4 separate regions of the Homo sapiens genome follow, and all the other regions are linked to region 3. Evidence: promoter capture Hi-C in human tissues and cell types (Jung and others, 2019). All regions are on one chromosome and are shown on one strand. The core of a region is centred on a gene start or on the middle of the fragment in contact, and the rest is flanking DNA. Distances in the headings are between cores, read along the strand shown. Region 1 overlaps TM9SF2 (transmembrane 9 superfamily member 2). Region 2 overlaps DOCK9 (dedicator of cytokinesis 9). Region 3 holds the start of GPR18 (G protein-coupled receptor 18). Region 4 overlaps TM9SF2 (transmembrane 9 superfamily member 2).

Region 1 (2,700 bases), core at 55-2,554, 260 kb after region 3:
CCATATAAGGTTTGTATTTAGTGTTACATAATAATTATTTACTTACAGCTTTTGTTTTTGTTATTTAAGAAAAGCCTGAGATAACTCAGCTATCATTGCTAAGGAGGAGTTCATTTCTCTTTTTCATCTAGGAATAGGTTCTTAAAATCAAAGTTAGAAGGATCCTTCTCCTTCTCACAGTGTGTCATTGATAAGTCTGTCTTAATGAACATTCACGCAACTAATGTTAGGAATGTTAAGACGGTGGCTTAAAGGGCAGGGCTCAGATGCTCTGCCTCCTTTACAGAGGGTCCTGAAACCCGGGTCCTGGAACCCAGCTTCCAGTCATGAGAGGTTGTCTCAGCTGCTCTGTGTCTCTTTCCCCCTGTTTTCCAGCAGTATCTAGAGACACTCTCCGTTAGCACGTACAATGCTGCCTGGGCTCCCGCACTGGGATTTTTGGAAGCTAATCTTTCTTTTTTTTTTCCAGACAGAGTCTTGCTCTGTCGCCCAGGCTGCAGTGTAGTGGTGAGATCTCAGCTCACTGCAACCTCTGCCTCCCGGGTTCAAGCAATTCTCGTGCCTCAGCTTCCCGAGTAGCTGGGACTATAGGTGCATGGCACCATGCCCAGCCAACTTTTTGTATTTTTAGTAGAGATGGGGTTCCAACATATTGGTCAGGCTGGTCTCAAACTCCTGAACTCAAGTGATTTGCCCGCCTCGGCCTCCCAAAGTGTTGAGATTACAGATTTGAGCCAGTATGCCTAGCCTAACCTTTCTATTTTGATGTATTTGGAACATCTTTGGTACATTTTTCGAACACCAGTTAAACCAAACTAAGCACAATATAAGGTATTCTTTTCAACATATGTACTTCATCATCTCTCAGAATTCTTTTGCCTTTAAATCTGTTATCTTTTAAGCCTATTATCCTTCCACATTGCATAATCCCTGTTTGTTTTGTATCTGTTCTCCTACTGTACAAAGAACAATGGTCTTTTGCTTTTAGAAACATTAAAGTAGTTTATTATAATAATGTATCACCATATAAAAAAATTAAATGATGCAAAAGAATAAATAATAATAAATGTGCAGTTCCACTTCACAGTTTGTTATTAAAATTTCCTGAAAATTTTCATACACCTATAAGCTTACATTAAATAGATTAGATTTACTTATTTGTTTTAACATACTATATGCCACACTTTGCATTTTTCCTTTAACTCTCTACCATGGGCATCTGTCCACATGAGAATGTGTGTTCTGATGGCTCTAACTTGACTCCAGGTGTTATTCCCCAGCCCGACAGCTTCCTCTCCTGGCTTCGCGTCTCTGCTATGTCTTAGACCTCATCCATAGCCACCTTCCCTGCTTTCTCACGAGGCACCCCCATCTCCCTCGACATTTTATTACATGGAGCACAACATTTATTATCTGTCCAGCAAATCCCGAAGCCTAGATTCATCTCACCAACCGTCTTACTCCCTCCAGCACCTGCACCTACACTGTGAAGCCCTGGGGGAAAAGAAACATCACTGTGCAAATTTAATCCACTACAAGTTGATTGGTTTTGACTGTAAATATATCCTCTTCAAATATTCTTTTTTTTTCTTTTCTTTTTTTAAGAGATGGAGCCTTGCTCTGTCACCCAGGCTGGAGTGACGTGGCACAATCATAGGTTACTGCAGCCTCAGACTCCTAGTCTCAAGTGATCCTCCTGTCTCACTCCCCTGAGTGGCTAGGACTACAGATGCATACCACCACATCCAGCCAATTTTTAAATTTTTTATAGAGACAGGGTCTCACTCTGTTGCCCAGGCTTGTCCTGAACTTCTGGCTTCAAGCAATCCTTCTGCCTCAGCCTTCCAAAGGGTTGGGATTATAGACATAGACGTGAGCCGCCGTCTGACGCCTTTCAAATACTTTTTTTTTCTTTTTCGAGACAGAGTGTCACTCTATTGCTCAGGCTGGAGTGCAGTGGCAAGATCTCAGCTCACTGTAACCTCCGCCTCCTGGGTTCAAGTGATTCTCCTGCCTCAGCCTCCCAAGTAGCTGGAATTACAGGCGTGTGTCACTATGCCCAGCTAATTTTTGTATTTTTCGTAGAGATGGGGTTTTGCCAAGTTGGCCAAGCTAGTCTCAAACTCTTGACCTCAGGTGATCTGCCTGTCTCGACCTCACAAAGTGCTGAGATTACAGGCATGAGCCACCATGCCCGGCCCCTTTCAAATATTCTAATCTGAAATTGTCTACCCTAAAATTGCCAGTAACTTTTAAAGTTTCCTAAACACAGTAGATTCAAAGGCCTAATGGGATGAAGTCATTGAGGAGGAAGGAACTCAAAGTGTATGGACATGGGTGCCATTGAGCAGGGCAGGCATGTAACTTGCGAAACACCTCTTCCCTCTTGGGGTATTTGGAAGATTACTTTGAATGGTATTGCATTCTTCTTATAGCAGATGACTGTTTTCAGGCATGCTTTTTAAATTTTACAATCTTAAATATTCCAGCAGCCTCTCAGCCCCATCTCTCTACTTATGTCTTGCCCTTGAGAAATGATGGGTGGGAAGAATATCAGTAATGCCCTTAGTGAACTGGGAAGACAGCAGGAGTCCCTAGCAGGAAACAGAAGGAAACCCAGCAAAATACTCAAACCCATGGGGAGGTGTTGCCCTTTGGGGCAGACTTTGAAGGCAGGTTACTCCCCTTAGTAGGATGTCA
Region 2 (2,700 bases), core at 51-2,550, 300 kb before region 3:
CTTTGCCACCCTCAGCATCCCACTCAGGCCCCAGGGACACGTCCTGTGGGGCTAAAAGAGCTTGCCAGTGGTTCCCATACAGCTCCATTGTTGCTGGGCACCTTGGCTTAGGAAGATTTCCAGGAACGTGCCCACTGTGTCCACCCAATGTCATGACACAGAAGATGGGACGCCATGGCACAATTCAGACATGTTCTAAGGTATGTGGCCCCAGGACTACTTGGCGGTATGTAAGATTAGTCATTGCACAAACTGAGAATGCCCCCAAACTGCATTGCTCATGTACAAAAGAAACCTCACAGAAGCTTTTCCAATCCTAAAAATTCCTGTGACATTCCCAGATGTTGTGGAACTAGAAGAAACTTTTCTAAACTCTCAATAATAAAATACAAATTTGGACTAATCATGCCAAGGGAAACACTGATCTGTTCTTGCAATGAAGAATGATAATACAAAATCATGATCATATGAAGAGGCAATAAAAGAATATGAAGCCCTAAAACTATAGGGAAGTAGTATGGAGGTGTATCTAGAGGTTCATTGATAAAAATGTGTTGTTTCCCTGGATTTCTGGTGTTTATGGCTTGTGTTAGCTTTTTAAAATTTCTTTCTTTTTAAATTCTAAATAAATGTTCACCTCCGTGCCTTATTTTGTTTTCAAATGTTGAATTATTTTTCTTAAAGAAAGCCCCTAAAATTCTGTAAGCTTTGTCCCTCACAAAACCTGACTCTGCCCTGATAGGGTCGTGTGTCCACACGAATGCTGACGAGGATGGCAGCATGGTTAGGAAAGCCGAGCTGTGCAGTCATGTGAGGCTGCTGCTGGACTCAACTGAGTCAATGCATGGAAAAGGCAAAGCCTGGCAAACTGTAAACACATATTATAATAAATAGAGCTATTCATATTATTAAATATGTTGCTTGCATGATAGGTTTTAAAAAAAAAAAAAAGAAAAAAAAACTTTCCTTGACCTCCAGAAACATACAAAATAAAACAGGCAATAATGACAGGGACATGCACAAAGGAAGACAAATAATGACCCAATATAGAGAAAACTGCATCCAGACACTGAAATTCAGGGGCTGAACCCAAAGGAAACAGACAGCTGCTTATACCGTAGATGGGACTGAGTATTGCTGTGGTGTGTGCCAGGGAAGACGAAGAATAACCACAGCTGGGGGTGGGCGATAGAGAAAAGCACTTCTGACCCCCTCCCATTAGGGCAGCTCCATGACAGCAGCAGGGTCTTGGATTGTGAAGAAGAGAGCAGGCAGGCAGGACACCCCATGGGACACTGCTCACAGAGGGTTATGTGGCATGATCAGAGTGGGTGGGGAGAAAGAGCTCCTCATCTCAAGGGACAACATGGACACAGGTGAGCCACTGATACCGAGGCCCCGCCAGTCCCCATCTACTGAGCATGGCAGCGGGCAGCATGGCGCGCCTCTAGCAATCACACTTCCCTACACCTCCCATGGGGGCCAGAAAGCAGGACCCCAAAAGGCCCCACCATGATCCCCCCACCCTTCAATCTCTTGGAACTCCCTCCCTCCCACAGCATTTGCTGCTTAGGGTCTGGCGGCCCAACATCATGCAAATTGAAATTCCAGATCAAAAGGCAATCAGAAGCAGGAAATGTTCTTAGTGCCAGGAAAATGAGATTCCTCTGGATCCAGCAGACCTGCACAATGTTCGCCCACAAACTGAGTTCAGTTCTGGCCAAACATGTACAAAACCTCGAAAACCATGGGAAGAGCTAAGCTCCAAAGAGCACAGTAATTTCACTGCTCTTGCCTCGGATGTGATAGCTTCAAATGAACTTTCCAGTCATTTCTTGCCCTTGTGTCTCTGGTGATTAAATGTTAAGAAGAGCTGAAATCCCAAATGCCACTTCTTGAAATAGCAAACTAAATGGCAACTCTTGGAGCTATTTTAAGAAATGAGAAATTCGTCATTTCTGCTTATAAAGAATTTAGGACTTCCTTGATTTATCTGCATGGCTATAAAAGCTACTTGATAGGCTGAGATAAAGTTGGTCCACTTTCAAAGCGCTTCTCAATGTTGCCAACAGGACACCAGTACTGTTGCTGGGGATAGGAAAAAGGAGATGGCAGCTTGCAACAAAAAGGGGCTTCTGAAGCCACGTGCTCACAAGTGTGGGACACACAAGCCTTCCTGCACTCCTATCATGCACGTGACTCTCGCTACGTAGCCCCACCAGGAATTTCTTGAAGTTGTCAAGTTTGCAGGAAGGATCCTCATTTTCCTATAAGTAGGGTGGGCACAGGAAAATAACAGCGGCCTCCCTTCCTTGTGTACACATGTGATTAGCAGTATGAGTTCCCTCTCTCCACAGGTATTTACTGAGCTGGTTCACATGCACTGTGCCAGAGACATCAAGATAAAAAGAACACGGCCCTGCCCCAGGGAGCTGGCAGTCAGAGGGAAGGCACATGTGTGAACAATCAGCAGAATGAATGACAGCAGCAGGGACCAGGAGTGGCATCTGGCCCACTAGAAGGAACCCAACCTTTGCCCAGCTAGATTATAAGCTCCATGAGGGCAAGACAGCCCTATTGTATTTGCTGCTTTCTCCAGCACCTAGAACAGCACCCAGCATAGCAGAAGCACTCAATAACTGTGTGTTGGATGAGTGAGGGACCCCAATTATGTGGGGTGCTTCTTAAAGGAGGTTCCTG
Region 3 (2,700 bases), core at 22-2,521:
TCTTCCCTTCTTCTCCTTCTTTCCTTCTCAAATATTTAGGTTAAATATGATTTAGGAGCATAATTCTATATATTTAAAAACATATTAAATTTTCCAAATATTGGTGTGACTAGAATATTAATTTCTATCAAATGAGGAAAGTGCTACAGAGAAAAATTATATCTCTAGTGTCATTCAAAGGAGAGTAATCTTGGAGGCTTAAATCTTATTTTTAACTGGAATGCATTCTTATTAAATAGTAGCAATTATAATATAAATGAAATTTTGTATTTGTTTTTCTTTTTTTAGTATTGCATCAGGACTCCCTTCACCTATCCTCATCCTTCAATTTTGTGACATAAGTCCTGTACTTACAAACCATCTTGAGTCTTTTTTCCCACGTTATGCTCAAGCTGTTTTTATGTAGCTTGTCACCAATACTTATATTCATTTGCTGACGTTTGAAAAAAAATGAGTGATGCATGTGTTTTAAAGGCATTATAGTATTGATTGTGCTCTGCAAACACAGAAATTTTTGGATAAATATTGAAAAGTGATTGACTTTAAAGTCAGCTTTTTAAAAGCTATAGATACCATGATTATCTGTAGCTTTTCTTTTCTTAAAAACCATTAAGTTATTTCATGAAACAATGTAATTGAAAACATGTGATGAACATTCCTAAATATACATATGATTTACCATAAACATTTTCTTTCCTTAAGTTGAAAAAAATTACATTTAGTATTAATGTAAAGCAATATTGAAAATAAATGTAAAATCATATTAATGTGGAAAGATGATTATATAGCCTATTTCAAGGTCTTTCACCAACATAGTTTGTTATGTTTATTTTTTTAATTAAATATATTTTTTTAATAGAGACGGGGTCTCACTATGGTGCTCCTGGGCACAACTGATCCTCCTGCCTTGGCCTCCCAAAGTGTTGGAGTTACAGGCGTGGGCCATTGCGCCCAGCCTGTATTATTAAAATGAAATGATTTTTGAAATGCAGTACATAAAGCATTACTTTTGACAATAATCATGAAGTTAATTAAATGCTGCTTACCTCCTGTCCATCAAAAGTCTGTGTGAGAGATGAGCATTTTTCAGCACTTCCACTTCTGTCGAAGGGATATCTTTGAGTTGCTTCTGTTAAAATAGCTCTTTCTGGAAACAGTGTATTTAAGAAATGTTGTATTTTGTTTTAGACTCTTTTGTTGCTTTAAAAAGTAGTTTCCAGTGTAACGCTTGGCGTCGGAGTTGGTGCTGGGCTGACTTTAATTGCTGCTTTGTCTCTTTCAGGAAGTGCTCTCTGAAATAGGCTTTTTCACCTTATGACTTTACCCTGGATGTGGTTTTTCTCTTTCACAAATGATTTGTTTATGAAGTCACACTTAGCATAAGCTCCCCTTGAAATGATGGCATATATTTAAGATAATTATATACAAAGGATAAAGTTTCTTCAGTTTGTGTACTTTGATGCTTGAAGTCTGCATCATCTATGGAAAGAGAAGATTTGATATTGAGTAAAAGGGGGTTTAAAGTCTAGCTTCTTTGCTTTATAAGCTATGTGACTTTGTCTAGTTACCTACCCACTCTGACTAACCCTTTGTTCCTACTTCATTTCTGTACAGTTGAAATAGAGATAATACTATATCCAGTAGGATTGTAGGGGCCCTAAACCAGAAAGATCCCAAGTGCTTAATAGTACCTGGCACTTAGTAGGTACTCCTAAATGGAGTCTCACTTTTTACTACCAAGTTATTAAAAATCATAGAATATCCACATTTCCACTTTTTACTATTTAAACATTTCTAAATGCTTAAAAGTAGGATCCTTGATTAATTGCTTCTGCTTTGCCACATACATTTATCCACTTTAGTTTGCTGTATTTTGTAAGTCTGCTTTTCTAGTGCGTGGAAGTCTAGAAATAATTTCTTTTGCATAAAAATTTCTGCAAATCTTAGCAGAAAGGACTCTGAAGTCTTTAGTGGACTGATTTACATATTAAGAGTGTTTTCACCTAAGAAGGGAAATGAAACCAGCAGAAAGGGAAGTGAGCAACGAATCGCTGCCTGCCTTGTTAGGTTAATTTTGTTTTACTTTCTCATTTCTTAAAAAAAATTATCTCTCATTTGCTTATCCTAAAATTTTAATTATCTTTATGTTTGGTTATGCATGGTTTGTCAACTTTTTAAAGGGTTCATGAACTTAAATGTATTTGTTTTTTTGAATTTTAGACAGTTTGGGGTCCATCCTTTTTTTTTTTTTTCTCAGACAAAACCATAGTAAATCTGTGGCTTAGAAAAGTTACTTAAATCCTTGCCTTTGGTGATAAAATACTTTTGATTGTTACAACCTGCCAGAATGATGGGTTTTAGAAGTGTTGGAGACAACCATAGCAACTATTTCTTGTGTGGATGAAGAAATTGAAGGCCAGTTACTTGCTTAAGAACTCAAGGTAAAGCCAGGTCCAGTTTCTCCCGCTGTAATAACTTCTTATGAGGTAATTATATTGATCTGTCCACTAGATAGGACTTCTTATGGCTGAATCACATTCATCAGTTTTTTATATGTGATGTTATATTTCATTCATCACACAGGAGTTTGATGTTTCAGCTGGACAGAAATCTGCCTGCATGCAGACCTAATCTGTCCTTTGCCTTATTCACATAGCTTAGGACTTTTCTAAAATTAAGTATTGATTAGCTTCCCCATTG
Region 4 (2,700 bases), core at 156-2,655, 280 kb after region 3:
TCCATTCAAACTTAAATTTTCTTACTTGTTGTAGCCCATTTTAAAGTTTTAAGTTTTGACTCTTATGTAGTCAGTTTTCTACCTTTAACTTTTAAGTTCTGTTCTGCAGTCAGATTTCCATGAAAGAGATACATTTTACATCTTCAACCATGTTGACATCAAAATATACTATCATGTTGTTGAAACTGGGTCCATGGGAGCAAGATTAGTGGCTGCTAAACTTGAACCGAAAAGGTAATTATATTAATGATAAAAAGTAAACAAGTATAAGTGAAATTTAGACCCAAAGAATAAGTATTTGGGGCTCAATTACTCCTTAATATTCTGACATTTCAGGATTGATTTCACTAAAACTCCCTTTGGCATGATTTGTTATTGTTATGGGTTGTCCAGAAAACCATACCAATAGTTATTTTCCTGTCATGATAAGCGGTCAAGCCAAGGTGCCTTAGTGTTTTGTTTTTCAGTCAGGAGGTTTTGACAGCTTTTCCACGTGTCAGTGGGGAGGGAGAAGTTGAGTGGTTGGGACAGTGGTCCCCTTCGTGGTGGAAAGAACACTGCCTCAGATAATGTGTGGCTTTCCTCTGGTCAGAGGCCCAAATGAGTGGACAAGTACTGTGATTTCTCAAGCCCCTATGCAGTGTTAGATGCCACTATGAAATACGAGCCATTGAAAGAGATCTCTTCAACTTATTATTTTTTATCACGAACGTACATATCAGTTATTTATGAGATTTTTTTTTTAAATATTTCATTTTTTTTCACGACTTTTTCTGCCATTGAATTAGCCTTTTTCTCATGCACTGGTGGTCAAGAAATACATGCCATAATAAGATGGCAGTTAAACTTCATCAGTATTTTTTTTTTTTAAATAAGATTATTTAGCCAGGCACAGTGGCTCGCACCTGTAATCTGAACACTTTGGGAAGGCCAAGGCAGGAGGATCACTTGAGGCCAGGAGTTCAAGACCAGCCTAGGCAACATAATGAGACCCTGTCTCTACAGAAAATGAATTCGCTGGGCATGGTGGCATGTGCCTGTAGGAAGCTGAAGTGAGAGGATCACTTGAGCCCAGGAGTTCAAGACCAGCCTGGGCAACATAGTGAGACCCTGTCTCTACAGAAAATTTAAAAATTAACTGGGCACTGTGGCCCGTGCCTGTAGGAGGCTGAAGTGGGAGGATCACTTGAACCCAGGAGTTTGAAGCTGCAGTGAGCCAAGATCACACTACTGCACACCAGCCTGGGTGACAAAGCAAGACCTTGTCTCAAAAACAAAACAAAAAACAAAAAAGGCCAGGCATGGTGGCTCATGTTGTAATCCCAGCACTTTGAGAGGCTGAGGCAGTAGGATTGCTTGAGCCCAGGAGTTCAAGACCAGCCTGGGCAACATAGCAAGACCTTGTTTCTACAAAAAATGAAAAATTAGCTGGGCGTGGGGTGTGGTGGCACACACCTGTAGTCCCATCTACTTGGGAGACTGAGGTGGGAGGATCACTTGAGCCCAGGAGTTTGAGGCTGCATTGAACTGTGATGGCACCACCGCACTCAGGCCTGGGTAAGAGAGCAAGACCCTGTCCCAAAAAAAAAAAAGAAAAAAAAAAAGATTATTTAAATGCTCTTCAAGTATAGTGTTTTCAAAAGTATGTTTATAATTTTGTACACATATGATGTAAATATTTATGCTATTAAGTGTGACATGAATAATTTCACCTTTGTCAGCAGCATTTTAAAATACGTACAAAATCTGTAACCTTTACCTCATTTTTAAAAAGTTGTACTTTATCAGCATCTTGCCAAAATGTTTCTTCCCACAGCTTCAAACATACCCATATAGATAAACCAGACTGCTCAGGGCCCCCCATGGACATAAGTAACAAGGCTTCTGGGGAGATAAAAATTGCCTATACTTACTCTGTTAGCTTCGAGGTGAGTCTGTTGTTATCTTTAGTATAACTCTGAAATTGATTTTAAATTTGTACTACTTAAACTAATTAAAATGTTACTGATTATGCTTGTCAAATAAAGAAGCTATTAATGAGCTGATTTTTAGGATAGTTTGTCGGTGTACCAAGCAACATAATCACTCTTGTAACTGAGTCTTAGTTTAAATGAGAATATAGAGGAAGTTGAAGACTTGAGCCTGATTTAGTGTTAAGCATAAGAGATACATATAAGACAAAAGTAGAAAACAGGCCTAGAGGACGGGATGGAAATGCCAGAGATATATTCAGAAACCATTTGGGAAATCAACACCGTACTTTAAAGGATTTAAGTGTGAACTTTAAATGGAGAGCTTCCAATTGGTAGATTGTCTTAGAAAATTGAAGGGAGTGTTTTCATTAACGAAGTTTCTTAAAATGCAAATTCATTGTTATGAGAATCTTAGTATTCTACCTTTATTTTTTCACCATTTTTAAAATCAAGATTTAATTATGAACTTTAAATGAAGAGTTTCCGATTGGGAGATTGTCTTAGAAAATTGAAGGGAGTATTTTTATTAGCGAAGTTTCTTAAAATGCAAGTTTATCATTAAAATGCAAGAATCTTAGGCAGTGTTCCAACTCTATTTTTTAAAACTTTTGGCAATCCAATATAGTTGTGATGTTTAATATCCCCGTATAATGTTTCATTTTGCAAACCTGGTGCAGTAAATAGTATATATTTCTAGATATTAAGAGCTCAGTGTGCCTGGAATGAC

The links. The method cuts DNA at HindIII sites, captures the fragments that hold promoters and counts their contacts. A contact is called where the count stands out against the background at its distance.
Region 1: a fragment that was not itself captured here is called in contact with the fragment with the promoter of GPR18 in region 3 in 3 of the 25 tissues and cell types used here (IMR-90 fibroblasts, mesenchymal stem cells and spleen).
Region 2: a fragment that was not itself captured here is called in contact with the fragment with the promoter of GPR18 in region 3 in 2 of the 25 tissues and cell types used here (H1 embryonic stem cells and dorsolateral prefrontal cortex).
Region 4: a contact is called between a fragment that was not itself captured here and the fragment with the promoter of GPR18 in region 3, in 2 of the 25 tissues and cell types used here (lymphoblastoid cells and spleen).

The regions. Positions count from the first base shown.
Region 1 is chr13:99,520,121-99,522,820 of GRCh38, forward strand. It overlaps TM9SF2 (transmembrane 9 superfamily member 2), which reads left to right. Exons shown (of 17, transcript NM_004800.3): 3 at 1-9. Among named protein-coding and RNA genes, the nearest start is that of TM9SF2, 20 kb to the left of the region's middle. The HindIII fragment of the contact is 4,991 bases long and covers 1-2,700 here.
Region 2 is chr13:98,961,701-98,964,400 of GRCh38, forward strand. The region is part of intron 1 of DOCK9 (dedicator of cytokinesis 9); the gene reads right to left. Among named protein-coding and RNA genes, the nearest start is that of DOCK9, 15 kb to the right of the region's middle. The HindIII fragment of the contact is 4,064 bases long and covers 1-2,700 here.
Region 3 is chr13:99,257,108-99,259,807 of GRCh38, forward strand. It overlaps GPR18 (G protein-coupled receptor 18), which reads right to left and starts at 1,272. Exons shown (of 2, transcript NM_001098200.2): 1 at 1,047-1,272. The region is part of intron 4 of UBAC2 (UBA domain containing 2); the gene reads left to right. It overlaps LOC124903198 (a long non-coding RNA gene), which reads right to left. Exons shown (of 3, transcript XR_007063846.1): 3 at 1,332-1,479. The HindIII fragment of the contact is 6,968 bases long and covers 1,259-2,700 here.
Region 4 is chr13:99,537,630-99,540,329 of GRCh38, forward strand. TM9SF2 (transmembrane 9 superfamily member 2) reads left to right here. Exons shown (of 17, transcript NM_004800.3): 6 at 110-234; 7 at 1,817-1,928. Among named protein-coding and RNA genes, the nearest start is that of TM9SF2, 38 kb to the left of the region's middle. The HindIII fragment of the contact is 5,225 bases long and covers 1-2,700 here.